Linked DNA regions of Homo sapiens: region 2 is linked to region 1. The links are contacts of gene promoters, found by promoter capture Hi-C in human tissues and cell types (Jung and others, 2019). All regions are on one chromosome and are shown on one strand. The core of a region is centred on a gene start or on the middle of the fragment in contact, and the rest is flanking DNA. Distances in the headings are between cores, read along the strand shown.

What was found. Contacts are between HindIII fragments. The study calls those that stand out against the background at their distance.
Region 2: a fragment that was not itself captured here is called in contact with the fragment with the promoter of KNG1 in region 1 in 1 of the 25 tissues and cell types used here (neural progenitor cells).

What each region holds. Positions count from the first base shown.
Region 1 is chr3:186,712,994-186,720,729 of GRCh38, reverse strand. KNG1 (kininogen 1) reads right to left here and starts at 3,371. Exons shown (of 10, transcript NM_001102416.3): 1 at 2,993-3,371; 2 at 515-625. The coding sequence starts at 3,187. The HindIII fragment of the contact is 15,967 bases long and covers 402-7,736 here.
Region 2 is chr3:186,652,445-186,660,180 of GRCh38, reverse strand. All of the region lies in intron 1 of HRG-AS1 (HRG and FETUB antisense RNA 1), which reads left to right. It overlaps FETUB (fetuin B), which reads right to left. Exons shown (of 7, transcript NM_014375.3): 7 at 7,040-7,736. The coding sequence ends at 7,550. Among named protein-coding and RNA genes, the nearest start is that of HRG-AS1, 9.3 kb to the left of the region's middle. RefSeq lists an enhancer at 2,035-2,554. The HindIII fragment of the contact is 4,825 bases long and covers 802-5,626 here.

The sequences.
Region 1 (7,736 bases), core at 2,122-4,621:
GATAGCCATTGTTATCAAAGTTATTTGCATAATTCATCTGATTTCATCCTCCAACAACCTGATGAGGTCAATATTATCTCCCATATACAGCAGAAAGTGCCAGTTCTGAGAGGTCACAGCTCCCCCGCTATCACACAGCTAATGGAAGGCAGAGTCAAGATTTGCACTTAACGTTGTGCAATGGAAGCACCCACCCCCTCCCCTCGCCAGCTCTTTGGCTTGGCCCAAATGTCAATTTGTTATCTCTCTGGAGTCTGAGCCACATGTTCTGGCTGGACACTAGAGCCCCCTTCTCATGGAAAGGCTTTCTCCATGTTTAACTGCTGGCTTCTCCATGATTTTTCTGTCTATACAAGAACACAGATATAAAGCATCTGACTTTTCTACACATTGGAATGTTTATTTGCATTTCTCATAAACAGGCTCACCAGTAGCCATCATTTCTGCATCAGTAAAAAAATCTGGCAGGGTCAACGGAGAAAACAGAAGGCCCAAGAATGGCCAATACACTTACTGCTTTTGCAGCATCCTTGTACTCACAGTCCTGCCAGGTTTTGCCACTTTGAACAGGACAATCCCCCTCCTTGATTTCGTACTTGAAGGAATAAAACGTGTCAGAGCCAACCTGAAAAGCAGCCAAAGATACTTAGGGTTCATCCAACTGACCCAACAGCAAATAATTCTAGTGGGTTCCGGTAAAGTTAGGAATATTGATCTTTGACTTGAGAGCAAAGCATTCACTTAAAATATATTTATATTTCTATCATAAACATTTATGTGAAAGAATGTTTATAATATATTCACAATGTACTTTTAAAGGTTACAAAGCAGTATGCATAGTATTAGCCCATTTTTGTCAAAACTGGTTTATATATAAATCTATGTCTTTTAAAAGTCTGGAAAGATACACAGCAAGCTGTTAAAATGTTTGTCTGTCAGTGGTGAGATTATAATTATCTTTCACTTTCTTCTTCAAGCAAACATTTCTTTTTTTTTTTTTTGAGATGGAGTCTCGCTCTGTCGCCCAGGCTGGAGTGCAGTGGCGTGATCTCGGCTCACTGCAAGCTCTGCCTCCCGGGTTCACGCCATTCTCCTGCCTCAGCCTCCAGAGTAGCTGGGACTACAGGCGCCCTCCACCACGCCTGGCTACTTTTTTGTATTTTTTAGTAGAGACTGAGTTTCACCATGGTCTCGATCTCCTGACTTCGTGATCCCCCCGCCTTGGCCTCCCAAAGTGCTGGGATTACAGGCATGAGCCACCGCGCCCGGCCCAAGCAAACATTTCTAAGTGGTCTTTTTCCCCTAATGAACGTATATGACTTTTACAAATTAGAAAAAGCAAACAAGAAAACCTTAAACAAATGTTAACAGTTATCTCTGTATGGTGGAATTAATTATGGGTGATTTTAGTACTTTTATTTGGTTTATTTTGTTTCCTACTTTTTCTTTTTTAAACAGCTTTATTGAGATATAATTTACATGCCATAAAATTTACCCACTAAAGGCATACAATTTAATGTTTTTTAGTATATTTACAACCATACCCACAATCTATTGGGTACCACACCACCAATAAACTGTTGCTTGAGATCACCATGAAGCAGAATTTCTCACATGACTGTACTAGATTATGAAAGAAAATGGCTCGATTTTACTTTCAGAAAAAATAACATGTCCACTGTGTTTATTTTCCTTTATCCCCATGTTGTCACATGGCTAGTTTTTTTTTTTCTGCTAAAGTAACCAATTGCTTGACATTCCCAGAGATATAGTCTTTTATAGTGAAATTTGTTTAAACATACTCTTGAAAGATTGGTATTTCTTTGAACCATGCATCCTGCCAGGATTTGTCTCCTGCTGGAGTGCATCATTGCAATAATATCAAAAACTAACTAAAACGTTGCTGTTAAACCCAGTACATTCAGCCATACAGACTTCTGTCTAATTCCGTAGAATCACATTAACCTCATTCCTCACTCCTCTTAGACATGCCCCATGAAGTACCCCCTCCCATTAAAGGTTTGGAGTTCTATAGTTTTTAGCCTAGGGCCAGAGACCCAGTGAATTCTTTTGCTGCAGTCTAACTAAATTCCTAAATTCTCCCTCTCTACTTGGTCCTGTTGAGATTTCTCCATCTACTTTTGTTTCATTTCACCCTAGATTCTACTTCTCTGATCATCCAGGAAGCCAACCTGCCTGAGGACGAGTCATACTCTGTCCTCCCACCCCAGGCCAGAGAGTGGTATCTGTCTTTCCACAAGTTGTAAGCTTCTACCTTTGATGATCACATATTTGGTAGTGCGTGATGGTGGTGGGTGGTGGGTGGCGGTGGTGGTGGGTGGTGAGGGGTGGTAGTGGTGGTGGGTGGTGGTGGGTGGTGGTGGTGGTGGGTGGTGGGTGGTGGTGGGTGGTGGTGGTGGTGGGTGGTGGGTGGTAGGTGGTGGGTGATGGTGGTGGGTGGTGGGTGGTGGGTGGTGGTGGGTGGTGGGTGATGGTGGTGGGTGGTGGGTGGTGGTGGTTGGGTGGTGGTGGTGGATGGTGGTGGTGGTGGGTGATGGTGGTGGGTGGTGGGTGGCGGTGGTGGTGGGTGGTGAGGGGTGGTAGTGGTGGTGGGTGGTGGTTGGTGGTGGTGGATGGTGGTGGTTGGTGGTGGTGGGTGGTGGGTGGTGGGTGATGGTGGTGGGTGATGGTGGCGAGTGGTGGTGGGTGGTGGGTGATGGTGGTGGGTGGTGGTGGGTGATGATGGTGGGTGGTGGTGGGTGGTGGGTGGTGGGTGATGGTGGTGGGTGGTGGTGGGTGGTGGGTGGTGGTGGATGGTGGTGGTGGTGGTGGGTGGTGGTGGTGGTTGTGGTGGTGGTGGTGGGTGATGGTGGTGGGTGGTGGGTGGTGGTGGTGGGTGCTGGTGGTGGTATGTGTGTGTGTGTGTGAGGCCTGGACTCCTAGTGATAGTACAAATCCCAAGTGACTTCAAGGTTAAACACAATTCACTCACCGTCTTAGTGGCTTCAGTTATGCGGTACAATACAAACTGGTTGTTACTTTGGTTTTGACTGTTATATTTCTTCAGAGCAGCATCCACAGCTTTAAATAAATCCTTGTCATTGCAGTCAATTTCCTCGGACTGTGATTCCTGGGTTAAACTTAGTAGCAGCCTGGAGCAGAGGAAAAGGATGGTAATTAGTTTCATGATCTAACAATCTCCCTCTAGGAGCTGAGGGATGGTTTCACCAAGAATCAAGAGCCAACTGGGATACTGAATTTGACAATCTCCAGCCTCTTGTTTCTTCTGTCCTCCTCTCTGCCTCAGAACTCAGGGCACTGGTTGGATTCCTGCTGCCAGACGCTAGTTGCCTTGTTCCCAAAGGTTAAATGGCTCTGCTGGGTTATCCAAACATATTTACAGCTAGAACATTGCAACACTGGGGTTGTTAACCTGCTCATTTGCATTTGAAAATCACGTGGCAGCACAGTGCATATTTCCAGGTGATTATACAACTTTATGTAGCAAATCAGAGCAGAATCTGATGAAGGAGGGGAAACAAGTGCCTACTAACTCGGTTATTCCCCTGTGACTTTTGCAAAGCCATTTTTGAAGGTCACTACATGGGTAAACAATGCAAGAATGAGTACAATGTGCAGACACATTTCATACAAAGTTTCTTTGCAGGATACCTACCTGCATAGAAGCAGACTGCTGTTAATTCTATTACATGCCTAAGAAGCTCATGCACAGGGGCATCCAGTGAGTTCCAGGAGTCCCATGCAGGACATTGGCACAACTGAAAATAAAATATGGGCGTCCTATCTGCTCTCTGGACAGGCCAGCCTTTCTCTGCTCAGTTGCATTAGTTCTGTAAAAGAAAATTGCTCCCAGGGTGGAGATAGAGGAAAAGCATAGGAAGGGATGGGTTGAGTGAAGCCCTGGATTCCCTATGCTTGCTTCTTTCTGGTTTGGTGTTGTTGGTTTGGCACAGAAAAAGATAGCCCCAAATATGGCTCTTTGGCATGCCGAGTACTTTGAACTGAAAGACATTAAAAAGGCTGCAAAAGCAAAGTCTCTTTCTTGCTTTCTCCTGCCCGTCTTTCTCCTGCTCCACTTCTCTCAAGGCAGGCCACAGAAGCTAGAATTTCTCTTCCCCAAGGCGGGTCATAGAACCCTTCTCCCTCAAAGCCAGCAATAAAACTTTATTATTCTTATTTTCCTCACATCAACACAGAGTGGGGAAACTATATTACAGAATGGTCCCCACCTGTAGACCAACATTGGAAAACTACAGTTGATAATCTCAGCAGAAGTGTGAGGCTTGATGGTATCAACATCCTTACTCCAGTAAAAATTGGCCAGGCACGGTGGCTCACACCTGTAATCCCAGCACTTTGGGAGGCTGAGATGGGTGGATCACCTGAGGTCGGGAGTTCGAGACCAGCCTGACCAACATGGAGAAACCCCATCTCCACTAAAAATACAAAATTAGCCGGGCGTAGTGGCACATGCCTGTAATCCTAGTTGCTCGGGAAGCTGAGGCAGGAGAATTGCTGGAACCCGGGAGGTGGAGATTGCAGTGAGCTGAGATTGCGCCATTGCAATCCAGCCTGGGCAACAAGAGCAAAACTCTGTCCAAAAAAAAAAAAAAAAAAAAAAAATTCGGCCTATTCACTCTGCTCCTTGTTCAGACTTTATTTTTTTAAAAAGTCTGTAGAGCCATGTTCATGAGGACAAACCTAATTTTTCTTTTTCTTTCTTTTTTCCTTTTTTTTTTTTTGACACAGGACATAGATGTTTGGACTATTTTCAATCTTTTTGTTTCTGATAAAAAATTATGTAAAGAAAATCTTTGTGCTCACCTATAAAATAGAACAAAGATTTCTTGGAGAGATGTAAAACATGGTTTTGCATCTTATTTTATATACACTTATAAATTTCAGGTTAAATTTATTCTTAGATTCTATGCCTAATTTTTTTTTTTTTTTTTTTTTTTGAGACAGAGTCTTGCTCTGTGGCCTAGGCTGCGGTGCAGTGGTGCAATCTCAGCTCATTGCACTTCCCGGGTTAAAGCAATTCTTCTGCCTCAGCCTCCCAAGTAGCTGGGATTACAGGGGACTGCCACTACGCCCAGCTAATTTTTGTATTTTTAGAAGAGACGAGGTTTCACCATGTTGGCCAGGCTGGTCTCGAACTCCTGACCTCTAGTGATCTGCCTGCCTTGGCTTCCCAAAGTGCTAGAATTACAGGTGTGAGCCACCGCACCCAGATGCTATGTCTAATATTAAAAGCTAGCAATGACTGAGCCTCAGCACTGGCGTCCTAACTACAAGGAGCACCTTTAAATTCATTCAAGGTTGATTGAATTGGATATGACTTTACTTTTCTGCCAAATCGTATTCCTCCCTAATTCTTGGAAAAGTTTTCATACTTTTTATGTGATACTAGCAATTGCACTCCCTTCCCCAGGAGTGTTGTATCTCTTCCCCTACTCCTCCCTCACACACACAGACACACACACACCCAGAGCCATAAGAACCAAAGACACTATGTGTGTGCAAATACCACTTAGTCTGGTACTGCTCATAACAAAGCCTACTTAGAAAACCAACCTGAGGGTTGAAGACTTCACAGTTTATGACATCATAGGACAAATCTGCTCTGCAGAATCCAAAGACGTTCAAAGAGGAGAGAAGCGTGTGTGTGTGTGTGTGTGTGTGTGTGTGTGTCTGTGTGTGTGTATGCATATGGGGAACTGAAGATGCCCAGCCAGAGTTGTGAGCTTCCAGTCTTTCAGCAAAGGAAGAAGAGCTTTAGAAAAATCAGAGTAATATGATCAGATCGCCCCACCAGTGGCTCAACAATCTGTCCTCGTGTACACTTTGAAGAAAGCACAGGTGGTGAAGTGTCTCATTTCAAGTTGTTGTGGTTTTCTGCCATGGAGGAAAGTGTTGAAAAAAAAGGGAACTATACAGCATAAAGATGGGTTTTCACAGATCCTGTCAAGGTAAGTGTCTGCTGGCTCTACCCTAAGTACAAGGGCTACAACTGGCTGGCACTCCTGTGCTCTAGAGGCCCCTAAACCCAGCTGTGAAAGGTGAACTAAGACAGGAGGATGGCTGTCTGCTAGACATGAGCAGGCACCAGCACTGGGCTTCCCCATGGGTGGTGGTGAGGAAAACCATACCATTGCTGCCTTGCCCTTAGGCCAACCCTTCTGCCCTGGAGACCTGAGTTGCCTGTGCTTCAACACCATTCTTCATTCTGCCTTTCACAAAATGTACCACCTAAGTGATAAGGTGAATATCATTTCACTGAAAACGTTCAAATGATATGAATATAAGAAGAGTGTGAAAAATCACCCATCCTGCACCCCAGCTTCTTCTCAGAGGTGCCACTGTCATTCATTTTATATGCTTCTCCTTCTAGCCTTCTATTCACTTCATGGCTTGTATACATTGCAGTCTATTTAATTTTGCATTTTCTTTCTTTCTTTCTTTCTTTCTTTCTTTCTTTCTTTCTTTCTTTGTTTCTTTCCTTCTTTTCTTTCTTTCTTTTTCTTTTTCTTTTCTTTCTGTTTTGATGGAATCTCACTCTGTGGCCCAAGCTGGAGTGCAGTGGCATAATCTCGGCTCATTGCAACCTTCACCTCTGGGGCTCAAGCGATTCTTCTGCCTCAGCCTCCCAAGTATTTGGGACTACAGGTGCGTGCCACCACACCTGGTTAATTTTTTGTATTTTTAGTAGAGACGGGGTTTCACCATGTTGCCCTGGATGGTCTCAAACTCCTGACCTCAGGCGATCCACCCACCTCGGCCTCCCAAAGTGCTGGGATTACAGGCATGAGCCACTATGCCCGGCCTAACTTTGCATTTTCTAAATGCATGACAAACATCAACCAACTGGCAGTATCTCTCATGTCTATTCCTCATTCTCATTGCCCTAATTCCCACTGCCTGGGTCTGGCCCTCATTCCCGCATACATAAAATAACTTCCAAGTTCATGTCCCTGTCGCCTGCCTGAGATTCCCCAGGCACCCTGGGGCCTCTCCCACTCACCCACTCTGTATGCTAGCTCTCAGAGGTAGCTCTGTGCTGAAGCACGCTGTGCTATAACCTGGAGCAGAGTCTGGAATGGGAGTAAGGTCACTGAATGGAATTCTAAGTTCCAGCACTCCTGTTCTCTACAACTTGCAGTGCTCCCTCTCTGATACATTAAGAAGGGTACATTGCTTTGTAGCACTCCTGTGGTACTCTGTAGTGCTCCTGGTCTGTCCTCCTGATTTCAGTTGTTTCACCAAAGAGGGAGTAGTTTATTTTGGGAGAGAGAAGGGAGGCTTCATGTCTTTCCATAATGTCTTCAGCCACTCAAATCCACTCCAGGTAAGCAAAGAATCGAAGTGAAAACAGTAGCCTTGTTTTGCCTTAAGATGAGCCCACAGGCTCATCTCCCAAATAATGACAGCTCCAGAGCCCACACAGAACTTCTGGAACCCCCTGCTTATATTCAATTATTCCCCAACACCCTTCTTTCTGATTCCCTACCCACCTAGAAGTAGTGGTGCCAGGAATTCACCAGGAATGCCTTTACCCAGACCCTCTTCCTATGCAAATCCTACCCATGCATCACTACACAGCTGAAGCCTCTTCCCATGCAATCCTAATAGATCCGCCTTCATTACGTAGCCCCAGTACGTTTACCACTCCTGTGTTCGCTTGAATATTGTTGGGACCCAGAATACGATGTTCCAAA
Region 2 (7,736 bases), core at 1,965-4,464, 60 kb after region 1:
CTCGTCTCACAGCAGAGGCAAGTAATTGTAACTCAGAAACGCGTTGCCGTCTGGATGCTTCTTCTCTATTATTGTACACCTTGAAGGCAAGATTGATTAATTCCTGTTGTGGGGTTTGAGGGCTAGATTCTAATTTTTGAAGTTTTTTCTTAATGTCAGGAGTGGATTGGATGATAAAATGCATGTTAAGAATAAGGCGGCCTTCTGGCCCTTCTGGGTCTAGGGCGGTATAGCGTCCAAAGGTTGCTGCTAAGCCGGCCATGAACTGGGCTGGGTTTTCGTCTCTACCTTGGGTAGTCTCTTCAAGCTTGTCATAATTAACAGCTTTGTAAGCTGCCTTTTTAAGCCTTTCAAGTAGGCAGGAATCATGTAATCTCACCTAGCTATACCTGGGGAATTTGTCTGATAGTTCCATTGGGGATCTTCTCGGGGAACTGCTCTAATGCCTTCCTGGAGGTCTGGCTCGTGAAGCCGGCGGTTATCAGCGTGAGATTGGGCTAGAGAAAAAACTCTTTCCCGTTCATCTGGGGAGAGGGTAGAAGTTAGGATGACATTTCAGTCACTCCAGGTTAACTTGTAGGACAGAGTTAGATATCAGAATTCCTGTATACATTTAGTGGGGTCTGATGAGAAAGAGCCTAAACACTGACTGATCTGAGAGAGGCGTGATAGAGAAAAAGGTACATGTACCCTGACTATGCCTTCAGCTCTAGCCACCTCTCTAAGAGGAAACTGTTGGGCAGGTGGGGAAGAACTAGTCACAGAACTAAACTGTATGCCGGAACGGCTGTGAGGAGGGGAGATGGTAGAAGGATTATAGGGTGGAGGAGCAGAGGCTGAGGAAGAATTGGGACTTAGCTCGGCCTGGTGACAAGCAGCCTGGGGAGGAGGGGAAAGGTCAGATGGGTCTGTAGAAAAGGAAGACTGGAAAGACTCAGCAACGCTTGGGGTTGGGACTGAGGGGACAGGCGGGAGGGAAAGAAGGAAGATTTGGGACGAGTTGCATTGGGAACAGAGACCAGGGAGGGACCGATATGTAAAAGAATGCCTGGACATCAGGCACCTCAGACCGTTTGCCTATTTTACGACAAGAATTATTTAGATCTTATAGGATGGAAAAATTGAAAGTGTTGTTTTCTGGCTATTTGGAAGTACTGTCGAGTTTGTATTGGGGTCAAGCGGCATTGCAGAAGAAAATAAGACGCTTAGATTTTAGGTCAGGTGAGAGTTGAAGAGGTTTTAAGCTCTTGAGAACACAGGCTAAGGAAGAAGAAGGAGGAATGGAAGGTGGAAGCTTGCCCATAGTGAAGGAGGCAAGCCCAGAGAAAAGAGAGTAGAGACATGGAGAAGGGTTGGGGGGTTCTTGCCCTCCAGAAAAGCAGAGAAGGGGTCAGGGCACGGAAATAAGGGGTTGAGGCGCAGAGATAAGAGGTCGGGGCACGGAAATAAGGGATCGGGGCACAGAAATAAGAGGTTGGGGCATGGAAATAAGGGATCGGGGTGCAGAGATAAGAGGTCGGGGTTCCTGCCCCTCCCCTAGAAAAGCGGGACTTGCCGCTAAGGGTGAAAGACCAAGGCAGGTGTCCTTGCGTGGTCTGACACCTCTGAAACCTGAGTGAATAATCAGAGAGGCATCCCCACAATGATTAAACACCAAGGGAAGGCTGCCTTTCTTAGTCCACGACCGGCATTGGAGTTTTGGGTCCATGGATAAAACATGTCTCCTTTGTCTCTACCAGAAAATGAAAGGAATTGAAATTAAGAGAAGGGAGAGATTGAAGTGTGGCACCAAGATTGAACAGAGAAAGAGGTTGAGGGATAGTGAGGGAGGTTGGAGAAGAGTGTAAAAAGAGGCTGTTCACGGGATTTGAAATTGGTGAGATGTTTCTTGGGCTGGTCAGCCTGAGGACCTGAGATCGTAGGTGGATCTTTCTCACGGAGCAAAGAACAGGAGGACTAGGGATTGATCTCCCAAGGGAGTTCCCCTGATCCGAGTCACGGCAGCAAATTTCATGTGTGTCCGTGTGAAGAGACCACCAAACAGGCTTTGTCTGAGCAATAAATCTTTTAATCACCTGGGTGCAGGTGGGCTGAGTCCAAAAAGAGTCAGTGAAGGGAGATGGGGTGGGGCCATTTTATAGGATTTAGGTACGTAAAGGAAAAAGAGGGGTTGTTCTCTGGCAGGCAGGAGTAGGGGTCACAAGGTGCTCAGTAGGGGAGCTTTTGAGCCAAGATGAGCCAGGAGAAGGAATTTCACAAGATAATGCTATCAGTTAAGGCAGGAACAGGCCATTTTCATTTCTTTTGTAGTGGAATGTCATCAGTTAAGCCAGGAACCGGCCATCTGGATGTGTATGTGCAGGTCTCAGGGGATATGATGGCTTAGCTTAGGCTCAGAGGCCTGACACTATCTGGGCAGACTGGGCAGGTAGAATCTTCATCTTTACCTTTTCTTTTCTTTCTTTTTTTTTTTTTGAGACAAAGTCTCACCTGCTCTGTTGCCTAGGTTGTTGTATAGTGGTGCCATCTCAGCTCACTGCTGTAACCTCCACCTCCCAGTTTCAAGCAATTCTTCTGTCTCATCCTCCTGAGTACTGGGACTACAGGTGCCCACCACCACGCCTGGCTAAAATTTGTACTTTTAGTAGAGACAAGGTTTCACCATATTGGTCAGGCTGATCTCGAACCCCTGACCTCAGGTGATCCACCCGCCTCAGCCTCCCATAGTGGTGTGATTATAGGAATGAGCCACTGCGCCCTGCCGTCTTCACATTTTCATTCTGCATTTAGGTTATTTCTGTGTGTCCTGACCATTGTATCAGAAAAAAGAGTTAGCTAACAGAATTTTTATTCTTTAAACCTTTTTGACTCATAATAGAACACATGCTTTTTGCAAAAAATATGGAAAATACGAAAAGCATAAAGAAAATTCACCTCTAATTCTACAACCATAAGGAAAACCAACTATTTATAATGCATAATTGCTTCATACACTTTTTGCTATTTGAATATATGTAATATATATGTTTTGCATCATTAGAATTATTCTGTACATACAGGTGTTTCTTTCCCTCCACTGTAGTTGAGCATGTATTTACTTATAACCTCTATTTTTTTCAGGTATTAATAGAAACCATATAAGCTTTATAAATGTTTTTGTGTTTTTATAGGATTTTAAAATTTTGTTATTTTAAGTATACAGTTTTTAGTCATAAACACAATCCCTGCACAAAGTAAAAAAGCAAACAATATTTTAGAATATTGTAAAATAAAAATTAAGTCTCTTTCCTCCATTCTTTACCTCCCAAACTCTTTCCCAAGAGAAGGACTTTTAAAAATCCCTTGTTATATATGGCTTAAATATTGTATTTTCCCTTAAGGTTATACCATGAGGACTTTCTCAGATCATTAAATATTCTTCAGAAAGATTATTTTTGAGGTTACATAATATTGGATGTTATGTACGTGTTAATGTATTCAACATTCCCCAATTTTTGGCCATGTATATTGTTTCCAATTATTTGTTCTTATAAGTAATGCTACAGTGGACCTCTTTGTAAATCTCTGACTATGTCTTTGAGAATCACTAGACTGGTTGACAGAATTTTATGACATTTAATTTTTTTGTAATAGGAGTCACTTTTTAAAGAAAATGCAGTTTTTATCAGGCTTAATGTATCCATTTTGTTAATTTACTTTAAAAATGGGCTTTAATTTTTAGAGCAGTTTTAGGTTGACAGTACAGCTGAGTGGCGAGTATAGAGTTCCTATGTAGTCCCTACATCTGCCCCTCACGCTCACAGCCTCCCCTGCTATAAACCTCTGAACACTAGCAGCACATTTGTTACAACCGATGAACTTACACTGACACATAGTTATAACCTAAAGTCCATGGCTTACATCAGCATGCATCCTTGATGTTGTACATCTATGGGTTTTGACAAATGTATAATGAAATGTATCCACCATTGTAGTAGCATACAGAATAGTTTCACTGACTAAAAATCCTCTGTGCTCCACATAGTCCATCCCTGTCTCCTTGCTAACCACTGGCAACCAGTGATCTTTTTACTGTCTTCATAATTTTGCCTTTTCCAAATGTCATATAGTTGGAACCATACAGTAGTTAATCTTTTCAGATTGGTTTCTTTCACTCAGTAATATGTATTTAAGTTTCCTCCATGTCTTTTTGTGGCTCGATATTCATATTCCTTTTTCGTGCCAAATAATATTCCATTGTCAGGATTTACTTATCCACTCACCTGGTGAAGGACAGTTTGTTGCTTCCAAATTTTAGCAATTATGAGCAGATGTGCTGTGAATATTCATGTGTGGGTTTTTCTATGGACATAAGTTTTCAGATCATTTGGGTAAATACCAAGGAGTGTGACTACTGGAGCATATGATAAGAGTATGTTAAGTTTTGAAAGTAACTGCCAAACTGTCTTCCAAAGTGGCTGTACCATTTGCATTCCCAGCAGCAATGAATGAGAAGTTCCTTTTGCTCCATATCCTTGCTACCATTTAGTATTGTCAGTGTTCTGGATTTTGGCCATTCTGACGGATATGTAGTGATATCTCGTTGTTATAATTTGCATTTCTTTGATGACATATGAAGTTCACTGAAGTTCAGAATTTCAGATGTTCACTTACCTTTTTTTTTTTTTTGGTGAGGTTTAAATCTTTTGCCCATTTTTATTTTTATTTTTTTTAACTTCTATCTTAAGTTAATGGGTACATGTGCACATTTGTTATATAGGTAAACTCATGTCGCAGGGGTTTGTAGTACAGATTATTTGTCAGGCAAGTACTAAGCCTACTACCAAACAGTCATTTTCTTCTGACCCTCTCCCTCCTCCCACCCTCCACCCTTGAGTAGGTCCCAGTGTGTGTTGTTTCCCTCTATGTGTCCATGTGTTCTCATTATTTAGCTCCCACTTATAAGTGAGAGCATGCGATATTTGGTTTTCTGTTCCTGCATTAGTTTGCTAAGGATAATAACCTTCAGCTCCATCCATGTTCCTGCGAAAGACACGATCTCATTTTTTTTAAATGTTTTGCCCATTTTTAAATTGGGTTGCTCATTTTCCTATTGTTGAATATGTTCTTTTTAAACATTCAGCTGAGGTAACTCTTAATATTGTATAACTAGAAATACTCAGCTCCTGAAATTTTGTCGTAGAAGATTAGTGTTAGCAATTTGCAAACTACTGATGACTTGAACACAACAGCCTCAGATCAGTAATAAATGCAGCATTTTGCAACTATTGACAAGGATGCAGATTAGCTTGTCTGCACTGAGTCTGCAGAGTAAGAAAAAAAGATCAAGGACTGAAAGCCAGAGAAACAGCATCTAAGAGATGAGCCAGAGAAGAGGAGCCCAAGGTGGGATATGAGGGGGAGTGGTCAGAAAGCTAGAAGAAAAACCTGGAGGCTGTGGGACACAATCTCCTTGAAAAAATCTGAAGAGCAAGCAAAGTCAGCATTGCCAGATGCTTGAAAGTGTAAGTAAAAGTGAACAGAAATTTTTTTTTTAATTTAAAATAAAAGATTGTTAGGGAACACCAAGTCAGTGGGTTATGGGAAAAGAGATAGATTCACATTACTGTGACCTAAGGAATGAAGAGGTGGTGGGGAAGTGGCAAGCATGGGAACAATCTAGTTTTTCACGAATTAAGCCATGGAAAGACAAAGGAGGTGGTAGATAGAAGGAGAAACAAAGTCTGAGGCCCTTCCCCATCCTTTTACCAGTAGAGAAGGGCCTTATAGAACACCCCTTGGGAAACCCCAGCTAAGGCTCCTAATGGTTTCTCTCTGTTTGCCTCAGGCCCATCCTTTGATTTTCTCTGCCTGGTCTTGTCTCCCAGGCTGGCTCCAGGGAATTGAATAACCCAGGCTCTCCCTGCTGGCTAGTTTACCATTGAGTTCAAAGAGCCATTGGGAGGAGGAGATTGGAAGGAAACAGGAAGGGAGGGAGAGGGGAGGGTGCTTATTCCCTGCTCCTTCTCGTTCCAGCACCGGGTTCTGCAGGGGCTGCATCCCTCCACCAGGGCGGCTTCTGCAGGGCGGCTTCTCCACAGGATAGTTCCAACAGAGCGGGGAAGCTAGCCACTCCTGCTCCTGCTCAGCCTCGGGTGGCAAAGGCTGTCCAGGTGCCTCAGCATCCCTTGGCCTTCCCTTAGCCTGGGCAACAAGCCTTCACTAAAGGTCCCTTCACTGAAGTCTTTTTCTTTTTTTGAGATGGCGTCTAGCTCTGTTACCCATGCTGGTGGCGAACAGTGGCATTATCTCAGCTCACTGCAGCCTCCACCTCCCAGGTTCAAGCGATTCTCCTGCCTCAGCCTCCCGAGTGACTGGGATTACAGATATGTACCACCATGCCCGGCTAATTTTTGTATTTTTAGTAGAGACAGGGTTTCACCATGTTGGCCAGGCTGGTCTCAAACTCCTGACCTCCGGTGATCTGGCCGCCTCAGCCTCCCAAAGTGCTGGGATTACAAGCATGAGCCAGCACGCTGAGCCAACTGAAGTCTTTTTAGTTGAGCCACCTGAGTACAATTCTGCTTCTTTCAGACCCTGACCAACACGGTGTAAGACCCCACATGACACCCCCACATAATCACTTCCTTCTTATGAGAAGCAGATAAGAGGAACAGAGTGTGAACATTGTCTACGTCTCTTATGCAAATTATGCTGAGGCCTGTGTGCCTCTTCTAACAGCCACCAAGATAGAGGACAATAGCTGCATCTGCAAATTCTCTGTCAAAATGTCCAAAGTCTTATCTGCTGTGCATGTGTGCGTGTGCACATAGGTATCACTGAATGAGGGGAAATTGGCCCTGCAGTGTTTGAAAGAAGGAAAACGTAGACTGTAATTGAATGCTGTGATGAGCCCTCCTCTAACTGTCCTAGAGAAATTGTAACAGTGATGAGAACTGTCACGGTCTGCTGCTCCCACAGTGTCTAGCACAGGCCACATGTGCACTTCCCTTCTATGTGCCTCCAGCTCTAAGTGAATTACCCCACTGTTGAGACCTGGAGACTTCCAGACAGATGAAAAGAGGTAGAGGGTTGGAAATGGTATGGGCCCTACGCAGCTAATACCTGTCCTGGAATTAAAGGGAATTTAGGGACTGAAACTGTGCTGGGCATTAGTTGCTCACGCCTCCCGGTGTTAGGGAAAGTATCTTTACTCATGCAATGCTTTCATGCTGAGATTTCAGCACATATATACTGCTGAAAAGATAAGTATCTTTATAAGTGAGTGGCTGAAGACATAAGAGAGGCATCTCTCCATGGTATGAGACTGCTCAGTTTAGGAGGTGATGCAGCTCAGGGTACAAGGCAGTGTACAGGGTAGAGTGCAGCCCAAGCCGAGGGCTCAGTCTCATTATTTCCAATCCCAGTCAACATGCTGAGACCAAGAAGAGTCAAAAAGGCGTCCTTCACTAGCCACTCTACGTGTGCACGCTCTGTCTCTGTCCATCGTCCCCATCGCCTCCCATGTCATGCGGCGCACCATACCCCTACAGAAGACTCTGTGTGATTCTCATGGCGGAAGGACAAGAGGGCTGGCATTCTGGGCTGGCCCTGGGCACTCAGCAGTGCGTGCTTTTTCTTTGGGGAAAGGCAGGACCACCAGCTTCTCCTCCATAGGCTCCAGGAAGAGGAAGGAAATATCCAGGGTTTCTCCCTGGGGATTCGTGGTTAGGTCCAGATGCACAGGAAAGGCCTCC